Linked DNA regions of Homo sapiens: region 2 is linked to region 1. Evidence: promoter capture Hi-C in human tissues and cell types (Jung and others, 2019). All regions are on one chromosome and are shown on one strand. Each heading gives the region's core, a stretch centred on a gene start or on the middle of the fragment in contact. The rest is flanking DNA. Distances are from core to core; before and after follow the strand shown.

The links. Contacts are between HindIII fragments. The study calls those that stand out against the background at their distance.
Region 2: a fragment that was not itself captured here is called in contact with the fragment with the promoter of LUZP1 in region 1 in 2 of the 25 tissues and cell types used here (H1 embryonic stem cells and neural progenitor cells).

The regions. Positions count from the first base shown.
Region 1 is chr1:23,165,757-23,170,495 of GRCh38, reverse strand. It overlaps LUZP1 (leucine zipper protein 1), which reads left to right and starts at 1,640. Exons shown (of 4, transcript NM_001395462.2): 1 at 1,640-1,730. RefSeq lists enhancers at 746-795, 1,871-2,402, 2,403-2,934 and silencers at 1,441-1,500, 2,492-2,631. The HindIII fragment of the contact is 15,099 bases long and covers 1-1,848 here.
Region 2 is chr1:23,221,185-23,226,062 of GRCh38, reverse strand. No RefSeq gene overlaps it. Among named protein-coding and RNA genes, the nearest start is that of HTR1D, 6.1 kb to the right of the region's middle. The HindIII fragment of the contact is 4,643 bases long and covers 100-4,742 here.

The DNA.
Region 1 (4,739 bases), core at 391-2,890:
AAAATTCGTCTCAAAAAAAAAAAAAAAAAAAAAGAAAGAAAAAGAAAATAAGAATGACAATCATATTGTTCATATTGTTTGTGGAACACTGTGCCTGATGTTTTCCATACAGTATCTTAGGTAATTTTAAAACAAACACCACAAGACTATATTATTATCCCCATTTTATAGATGAGAAGACAGGCTCAGAGATGGCTATTATGACCCCAGAACATATGATCCCAGGGTTTTCTGGCATCAGAGCTTGAGCTCCACAAACATGTGTGGGTTCTGACCTCCAGGAAGTGCTAAGAAACAAATGGGAGGTCAGTTCTTTATAAGTTGTAGTGTTCATGCCCACGTGAGGGTTAAACACAATGTTATTGGTTATTCAGAACAGGGAGGATTGCTTTCTGGCTGGGAGAAGCTGGGAGGTGAGACAGCAGGGGAAGAGCTTCAGCAAAGGGTCAAATGTGGGAAAGCAGTGGGTGTGCTAAGAGAAGTTTGGATAAACTTTGTGTGTGTGTGTGTGTGTGTGTGTGTGTAAAGGTAGGAAGTGATCATACCAGGCCAGGGCTTTGGCCTTTATTCCATAGGCAATAAAGAGCTTACACAAGAGATGTCTCAAGAGACCAACCATGCTGCTGTAGTCAGAGAGGAAGCAGCCCTCAGCCCATCTGTGTCCTGGCTTGTGAATGCTGCTGCGTGCCAGCGTGTGGGAGGGCATCCGCAGCGAGAGCAGTCTCTGGCTGTGTCCTGTACTATGCTGGGTGTGGGTCTTGGGCTGTCTTTGAAGCCTTCCTCCTGGCTTCTCAGGGCACTAGGTGCCTTTTAGATAGTAGACTTAAAGGAAGTATGTCATAGAAGTATGGGAGGGGATTTTGAGATCATCTGGTTATTCCCCCTTCCCATTTTAAAGAAGATGAAAATCGGGAACATAGATGGGAAAGTACTTGTCTAGCATCACACAAAGAATTAATAGCACAGTGGGGGACGGGAACCCATGCCTCCCGAGTCTGAGCTGAGTTCCTTCTCTGCATTTGCAGAGTAATAGAAATAGGATTTGTTGAGTGATTATTCCATATCAGGTTCTAGGCTAAGCACCTTTCCATTGATTATCTCATTTAATCCTCACAACCCTACTGAGAGTGTCCCGCTTTTTTCTTTTTCTTTTGAGACAGGGTCTCACTCTGTCACCCACGCCGGAGTGCAGTGGCACGATCACGGCTCACTGCAGCCTCGACCTCCCTCGGCTCAAGCGATCCTCCTACTTTAGCTTACCGGCGGGCGCCACCACTCCCGGCTAATTTTTGTATTTTTTATAGAGATGGGGTTTCGCCATGTTGCCCAGGCTGGTCTCGAACTTCTGAGTTTAAGCGATCCGTCCGCCTCAGCCTCCCAAAGTTCTGGGATTACAGACTTGAGCCACCACGCGGGCCGAAAGTGTCCCTCCTGAAATCGAGAAGTCTTGTCTTCCATTTCGATTTCCCAGGGCGCCTAGCACAGGACCCAGCTACGGAGGCAATAAAAACTTGGTGGAGTCTAAGTCCTGGGAAGGGAAAAAAAGGACGGAGGGGGCGGGGCCTACAGACAACCCCGCCCATCACAAAGACCCCGCCTTCCAGAACGCTGACGTCACAATTTGGCCCCGCCCCTCATTGTCAGTCCCGCGGAGCCAGAGGAGGCGCCGGTCGCTGGCAGCTGAGCGGCGGAACCCTTCGCTGGCGGGAGCGCGGTTCGGGGCCGCAGAGGTGAGGGTCCGTGAGGCGGCGGCGGCGGGAGCGCGGCGCGGGGAGGGGAGGGCGGCGGGGTTGGGAGGCCGGTCCCGGGTGAGGTCGGGGCACCCGCGGCCACGGGGCAGAAGAAACCGCGGGCGCAGCCGAGGAGAGATGGGGTGTGGAGTTGGGGGAGAGTTGGAATGGATTTTGGAGGAAGGGCTCAGGAGGAGACCTTTTGGGGCGAGACCCAGCACATGTTTGTGGAGTTGGAGGAAGAGACTCTGAGGAGATTTTTCCTCGGGAGGGGGAGGGAAGGTTCTGAGGAGACTTCTTGGTGGGAGCGAGACTCTGAGGAGAAATGTTTGGGGCAGAGACGCGGAGGAGACATTTTCGAGGGGGCGGCGAAGAGTTTCGGGGGTAGAGTTTGGGGTTGGGGGAGGGGGCGCGGGCCGACAGGGGCGGGGGGCGACGAGGCGGCCGTGGAGGGGGCTGCGCGGGGCCCGGCGGGCACCGGAGGAAGGAAGTGATCAGACAGGAAGGGCCCGGGAGCTGCAGCAGCAGGAGGAGGAGGGCGGTTTGGGAGCGCGTCGGGCCGGCGTGCGGGGCCAGCTGCGGGCGCGGGGCGCGGGCCGCGGGCCGGGCGGGGAGGGGTCCCGCGGCCGCCGCAGCTGTCGGCCGCGCCGGCCCGCGTCCCGGGCGCTCTGCTGGTCTCGCAGCCAGACCGCTGGGCCGGGAAGGAATTCGAGGCATTCGCTTTGTTTAAGTTGCCAGTAGACAGTCCTTAGGACTAATTAATGGTGGAATCTGCAGGGGGACGCCGGCGAGCGGGGCCGGGGCCTCCCCCCGCCCGCCGCGGTGAACTTTCCGCAGCGCGGGGCCCGCCTCCCGGCGCACCCCCGGCCCCCGCCCAGCCGCCCGGGCAGGGAAGGAGCCATGGCTTCCCGGAGCGCAGGAATGAAGTGCGGTTTCTGGGGCTGGTGGCCTCTGGCTGCGGAGCCTGCCTGCAGGGAACCTGGCGACCCGCAGCGGCCGCGCTGGGGCTTCGGAGCCCGGTTTAGAGCTCTTGGAGGTGGCTGCGGTTTCTGTGCATAACCTTGGAGGAGCCTCTGTGAGCCGAGAAAGACCATCTTGCTTTGGAGCATCTGTTTCTTCATCGCGTCAACCCCTTTCCTAACACTGCAGAGCTTGTTGTGGCTTGTTTCGGGAATGCCGAGGCCAGTGCTCACCCTTGCGGGTGGGAGAGGGGAAGAGAGTAGGCACCCCCAAAACCCCTGTAGTGTGATTTCCAGAAGGCCAGACTGCCTGCAGCTCCACCGTCGCACCTTCACTGACTTGAATGACCTTGGGAGAAGGATTGCGCTGCTGAGCCCTTGGTGCCTTATCTGTCGTTGGAGGAGAAAATACTCTCTGGACCTCCCTGCCTTTTGGGGATGTTTTGAGGGGTGGGGTTTGCTCAGGGTATTTCTTTTACAGACGGCTGCAGTTCTGGCCTAAGGAGCTGGACTGGTGTCAGAGCCGGGAGAATTCAGATCACCTAATAAGATTTGACTACCTCAAATTAGGGAGGGAGGGGTTTGGATTTTAGGAGGACATTTCTTTTTGGGGAATCTGGAAGGTGTGTTCCAGATTGCCTTCTGTCACCTTGTTTGCAACTTTGGTAGTATTCATGTGGTTAAATTGAATTACCCCCATAGAAAATTCTTCTTTTGTCAGAAATAATTGTTTTGCTCAGAATTCCCCTGGGGGCAGATTAAGGTTTTGCTCAATTTACTCCTAGAAGAATTTACTCCTAGAAGAATTTTCCAGGTTTCTAAAATTAAATCACTTTTCTAAACATAGTAACTAAAGTTTGAAAAGCTGGAAATAGTGAGCTGGGAAGGGAATGGGTTGGAGTATGAAGAAGGCAGCAAACACAGGTTCATTGTTGACCAGTGATTAATAATGCGGATTGTTAATTAGCCTTCGTTGATTATGAGGTGTTTTCTTAATCTTAAATAATTTAAGACCAAGAAAAGGAACTAATGTTGTTGAGTTGCCTATTCTGTACCCAGTAATTATGCTAGGTGGTATAGATCTTAGGCAGTCTTCCCAAGAATTTTGTGAGGTGGTAGTTAGCATCCCTTTTTTTTTTTTTTTTTTTTTTTTGAGACGGAGTGCTCTGTGTCACCCAGGCTGTAGTGCAGTGGTGCGATCTCGGCTCACTGCAACCTCCGCCTCTCATGTTTAAGCTATTCTCCTGCCTCAGCCTCCCGAGTAGCTGGGATTACAGGTGTGTGCCACCTTGCCCGGTTAATTTTTGTATTTTTAGTGGAGATGGGGTTTCACCATGTTGGCCGGGTTGGTTTCGAACTCCTGACCTCAAGTGATCTGCCCGCCTCGGCCTCCCAAAGTGCTGGGATTACAGGTGTGAGCCACCGCTCCCAGTCAGCATCCCTGTTTTATAGATGAGCAAGCCAAAGGTCAGAAAGTAAAGTGGCTGTCCCAAGTTCACACACACAACTAGTAAGAAGTGGCACTGGAATTCATACCCAGGTCTGTTTCTCAGGTCTGTGGTTGTCTCTCTACTTTGCCCACTGCCTTGGGAATCATGAGACCTAGTTTTTTGGCCTTTGACTCAGCCACTGGGTGACTGTGGGCCCTAGAATAAGTCATTTAAGTCTATTCTCCAATAGTATTGCCTTTTCTTTCAGCAGTGTTGTAAATATGCACTTGAAGTGTGCTGTTTTTCTTTTCTTTTTTTTTTTTTTTTTGGTAAAAAGACAAACATATAAGGCTGTAGTAGTGTAGTAGTGGTATGTACTATATGCCTCTAGGTGCTTACTTATTTCTTATGATGAAAGCATTTCTGTTAAAATGGGGAGTACCTAAGTGATCATATATTTCATTTATGTAATGGAAGTTGATGGATAGCTAATGGCCCTTCCAGTGTAAAGCGGCCATCATTAAGGTAACATTATCAGAAACAGAATCATTTTTCATGTAATACAGCTTTTAGGGACAGTGTCAACTTATGAGTAAAGCATGCTGTTACAGGTAGGACCC
Region 2 (4,878 bases), core at 1,172-3,671, 55 kb before region 1:
CATTTCGCAGATGAGCAGGGGAGGGAGGAGTTGGGTTGTGAACAAACTGGAAACCTCACACAGTCCTGTGAGGAAACTAATAAGCCTGCTTTATATTATTTTATTCATTCAGGAAATAATACTTACTGTGGGTCTAATGTGTGCAGGCCTCCTTCTAGGTCCGGGGGAACCGGGTATGGTGTGGTGCATGCCTGCAATCTCAGCACTTTGGGAGGCCCAGGTGAGAGAGTTTCACCATGTTGGCCAGGCTGGTCTCAAACTCGTGACCTCAAGTGATCCACCTGCCTCGGCCTCCCAAAGTGCTGGGATTACAGGTGTGAGCCACCATGCCCAGCCCACCATTGCCTTATTATTAATAAGAATAATTTTTTCTTTAACAGTGTGAGTGGGAACAATTGGGAATATCAAACTTTGCCTGTTTCCTTGACTGGTTTAAATGTCTTTTAATTTGCACCACAGAATCTAAAACTTACAAGTTCCTGTAGGAGAAGAATCTTGTTTTGGGATTAGACCAAAAGACCCTGTGAGCCGAACTTCTCTGGGGCAGTTTAAGCCCATCACAGTTCAATCTGAGTCCAAAGAGGCCCCTCCCTCCCTTCCCCTCGGCCACCGGCCTCAGCTCTGCCATCCCCTCGGATTCCTATTCCCCAGGCGAGGCAATCGAGCTCTTAATTAAATTCTCTCGTTAGAAGTCAAGCCCGAGGAAAACAAACAGCAAAACCTCTCCTGCGAGACTTGTCTCTTCCTGGCTCAGAGGCTCGATGCTGGAGATGGTATCACTGACTGCCCTTGGACACCCATCCCTTGCTGCTCCCCGGGAATTTCCTGTTGGCTCCTTCCCAGGCTCAGCCTCACCCCATCTGGCCCAGAGGAAATTGCAATGGGAGGTGAAAGGATGTTATCAGGCATTTCATTGCGTGTTTCATTTAGGGTTGAGTCTCTGGACTCTGGTCAAGGGGGGAGAACGGGGAAGGCTTCAAAGACAGAGAAGAGGCATGGCGAGAGGCACTGAGATATGGGCTGGGGGACACAAGGCACTTGTCCCCAAGGACAGCGGACATGTGATCACACACATACCACCCCCACACCTCCCCTGATTATACTCCAGTAGATGCAGGAACCATGGGGAACTGGAAAGAGCACTGGACTGGGAGTCAGGAAGCCCTGAGTTACTAACTCACTATGCAATTGTTTAATAGTAATCAGAGCAAAATGTATTGCGGGATTGTGTGCTAAGCGTTATGCTAAACCCCACACATGCTGGGTGTGGTGGCTCATGCCTGTAATCCTACACTTTGGGAAGCTGAGATGGGAGGATCTCTTGAGTCCAGGAGTTTGAGACCAGCTTGGGCATAGGGAGATCCTATTTCTACATAAAATTTAAAATTTAGCCAGTTGTGGTGGCATGTGCCTGTAGTCCCAGCTGCTTGGGAGGTTGAGGCAGGAGGATTGTTTGAGCCTAGGAGTTTGAGCCTGCAGTGAGCTATGATTGAGCCACTGCATTCCAGCTTGGATGACAGAGTAAAACCCCTTTGTTGCGGGAAGTCAGGGACCCCAAACAGAGGGACCGACTGGAGCCATGGCAGAAGAACATAAATTGTGAAGATTTCATTTTAATATTGACATATATCAGTTCCCAAAATTAAGAGTTTTATAATTTCTTATGCCTGTCTTTACTTCAATCTCTGAACATAAATTGTGAAGATTTCATTTTAATGTGGACATTTATCACTTCCCAAATAATACTCTTATAATTTCTTACGCCTGTCTTATTTTAATCTCTTAATCCTGTTATCTTCGTAAGCTGAGGATGTATGTCACCTCGGGACCACTGTGATAATTGTATCTAACTGTACAAATTGATGGTAAAACATGTATGTTTGAACAATATGAAATCAGTGCACCTTGAAAAAGAACAGAATAATAGCAATTTTTAGGGAACAAGGGAAGACAACCATAAGGTCTGCCTGCCTGCGGGGTCGGGCAAAAAGAGCCATATTTTTCTTCTTGCAGAGAGCCTATAAACGGATGTGCAAGTAGGAGAGCTATTGCTAAATTCTTTTCCCAGCAAGGAATATTGATAATTAATACTCTGGGAAAAGAATTGCGTTCCTGGGAGGAGGTCTATAAATGCCCACTCTGAGAGTGTCTGTCCTATGGACTGAAATATGCCCTGGTCCCCTGCAGTACTCTCAGGCTTATTAGGGTAGGAAAAAAACCCCACCCTGGTGAATTTGAGGTCAGACTGGTTCTCTGCTCTGAAACCCTGTTTTCTGTTGTTTAAGATGTTTATCAAGACAATATGTGCACAGCTGAACATAGACCCTCATCAGTAATTCTAATTTTGCCCTTTGCCTTGTCATCTTTGCTTTTGTCCTTGCCCTGTTTCCTCAGAAGCATGTGATCTTTGTTCTCTTTTTGCCCTTTGAAGCATGTGATCTTTGTGACCTACTCCCTGTTCGTACACCCTCTCCCCTTTTGAAATCCCTAATACAAACTTGTTGGTTTTGCAGCTCAGGTGAGCATCAGAGACCTACTGATAAGTGATGTCACCCCCAGTGGCCCAGCTGTAAAACTCTTCTCTTTGTACTCTTCCTCTTTATTTCTCAGGCCAGCCAACACTTAGGGAAAATAGAAAGAACCTATGCTGAAATATTGGGGGCAGGTTCCCCCAATACCCCTTCTCAAAAAAATAAAATAAAATAATGATAATAATAATGGGCCAGGCATAGTGGTTCACGTCTGTAATCCCAGCACTTTCAGAGGCCAAGGTGGGCAGATCACTTGAGCTCAGGAGTTCCAGACCAGCCTGGGCAACATGGCAAAACCCCATCTCTACCAAAAATATAAAAAATTAGCTAGGCATGCTGGCGTGTGCCTGTAGTTCCAGTTAGTCAGGAGGCTGAGGCAGGAGAATCACTTGAGCCCAGGAAGCGGAGGTTGTAGTGAGCTGAGAACGTGCCACTGCACCCCAGCCTGGGTGACAGAATAAGACCCCATCTCAAATAACAATAATAATAATGAGGATGATACTAAACCCTAAGCATGGATGATCTCACTTAATTCTCACAACTTTATTCCCTCTTTCTTGGACAAGAAAACTGAGAATCAGAGAGGTTAAGTGACCAACTCAAAGTCACACAGCTAATAAGTGGTAGAGCTGAGATTCAAACTAAGTAGGCTGGCTGCAGAGCCCAAGCTCCTCTCCTAACTGTGTTTTCCAGGTAATTCCTCCTTCTAGGTCTCAGTTTTCCCAACTGTAAATTAACAGGATTAACACACTCAAACTCCAAAGACCCTTCTAGCTCTAACGACCTGTGCTTTATTCAACAGTCACTGTATTGCCAGGCCCTGAACTGGGAATACAAAGATAAGGAAGCCTTCATCTCCGTCTTCAAGTTAGAAACTTCTTCAAAGTAGAAATCACATCTTACTTATCCTTACTGGCCCACCCCACTTGCCACAGCAATGTGTAAAGAGAAGATGCTCAAATTATTTGTTGACTAGACAGATACCTGATTCATGGGGAGTCTGATGTAACTGAGGACCTTGTCCTGTTACTACCCTTGCAAGAGAAAGTTACTTAATCTCTGAGTCTGTTCCTTCATCTATAGAGTGGAAATACACAATAGTACTTTCCCCAGAGGGCAATGGAGAGGAGAATGCATGTTAGGCCCTTAGTGCAGTGCTTGGCGCACACATACACACATACACACACATGCACACACACACACAAAGGCCAGGCATGGTGGCTCACACCTGTAATCCCAGGATTTTGGGAGGCCTAGGCGGGTGAATTACATGAGCTCAGGAGTTCAAGACCAGCCTGGGCAACCTGGTGAAACCCCATCTCTACTAACATACAAAAATTTATCCAGACGTGATGGCACGTGTCTGTAATCCCAGCTACTCGGGAGGCTGAGGCATGAGAATCACTTGAACCTGGGAGGCAGAGGTTGCAGTGGGCTGAGATCGCACCACTGCACTCCAGCCTGGACAACACAATGAGACTCTGTCTCAAAACAAAAACAAAAACAAACAAAAAACTTTACCCTGTTGCTAGCTAGTGAGGGGTTTGCTGTACCCCTCTTTGTCATCCTCAGGTAAAAGCTATGAACCTATTTCCACTGCTAGGGGCAGGTAGCATATTTTCTCAGCCAGATCCTGAGTGATGAGAAAGAAAAAAAGAGCGAGAAGCCCGGGCTTCCCATTCCCTGAGAAGCCCTCCCCAGGATCCTGATTCCCATGCAGTCCTTGTTCCTCCCTTCTGTCTAGACAGCTCTCTCCTGAAGAAACTGCAAACCACAGACTGTCTAATGACAAAGCTTGCCCCAGACACCTGTCCCCAGACACACGATTCATTTAACCCTCTTTAAAAAAGAATAAGCCTGACTCCCACCTCTGAAGCAGAGGGGCACTCTATGGGCATAGGAGTGGCGGGGTGTCTTCTTTTTTCATTAATTTATCCATCCATCCATCCATTCATCCATCCATCCATCCATCCTTGGTTGAATGCTTACAATGTACCAGATTCAGTGCTAGGCACTGGGGATACCTAGGTGAGTAAGACACAAGCTGGCCTCTAGAAACTCATAATATTGGGGGAGGTAAACACAAAATCATTGTGAAAAGTGTGGCATCCCAACTATAAGTAGAGTCATGGGGAATACTCCTGAAGAGCTTCCTGTGTGCAAGGTCCTGTGTTGTGTACTTCAGATGCATGATTTCAACGTGGCCCTCATCATAACTAACCCCATGAGATAGGTATGCTTAATTGTGACCATTTTACAGATGGGCAGAATGAGGCTCGCAGAATTTAGATAACTTGTCCAGGATTGCACAGCTATTAAACAGCAAAATTGAGATTCAGACCCAGTC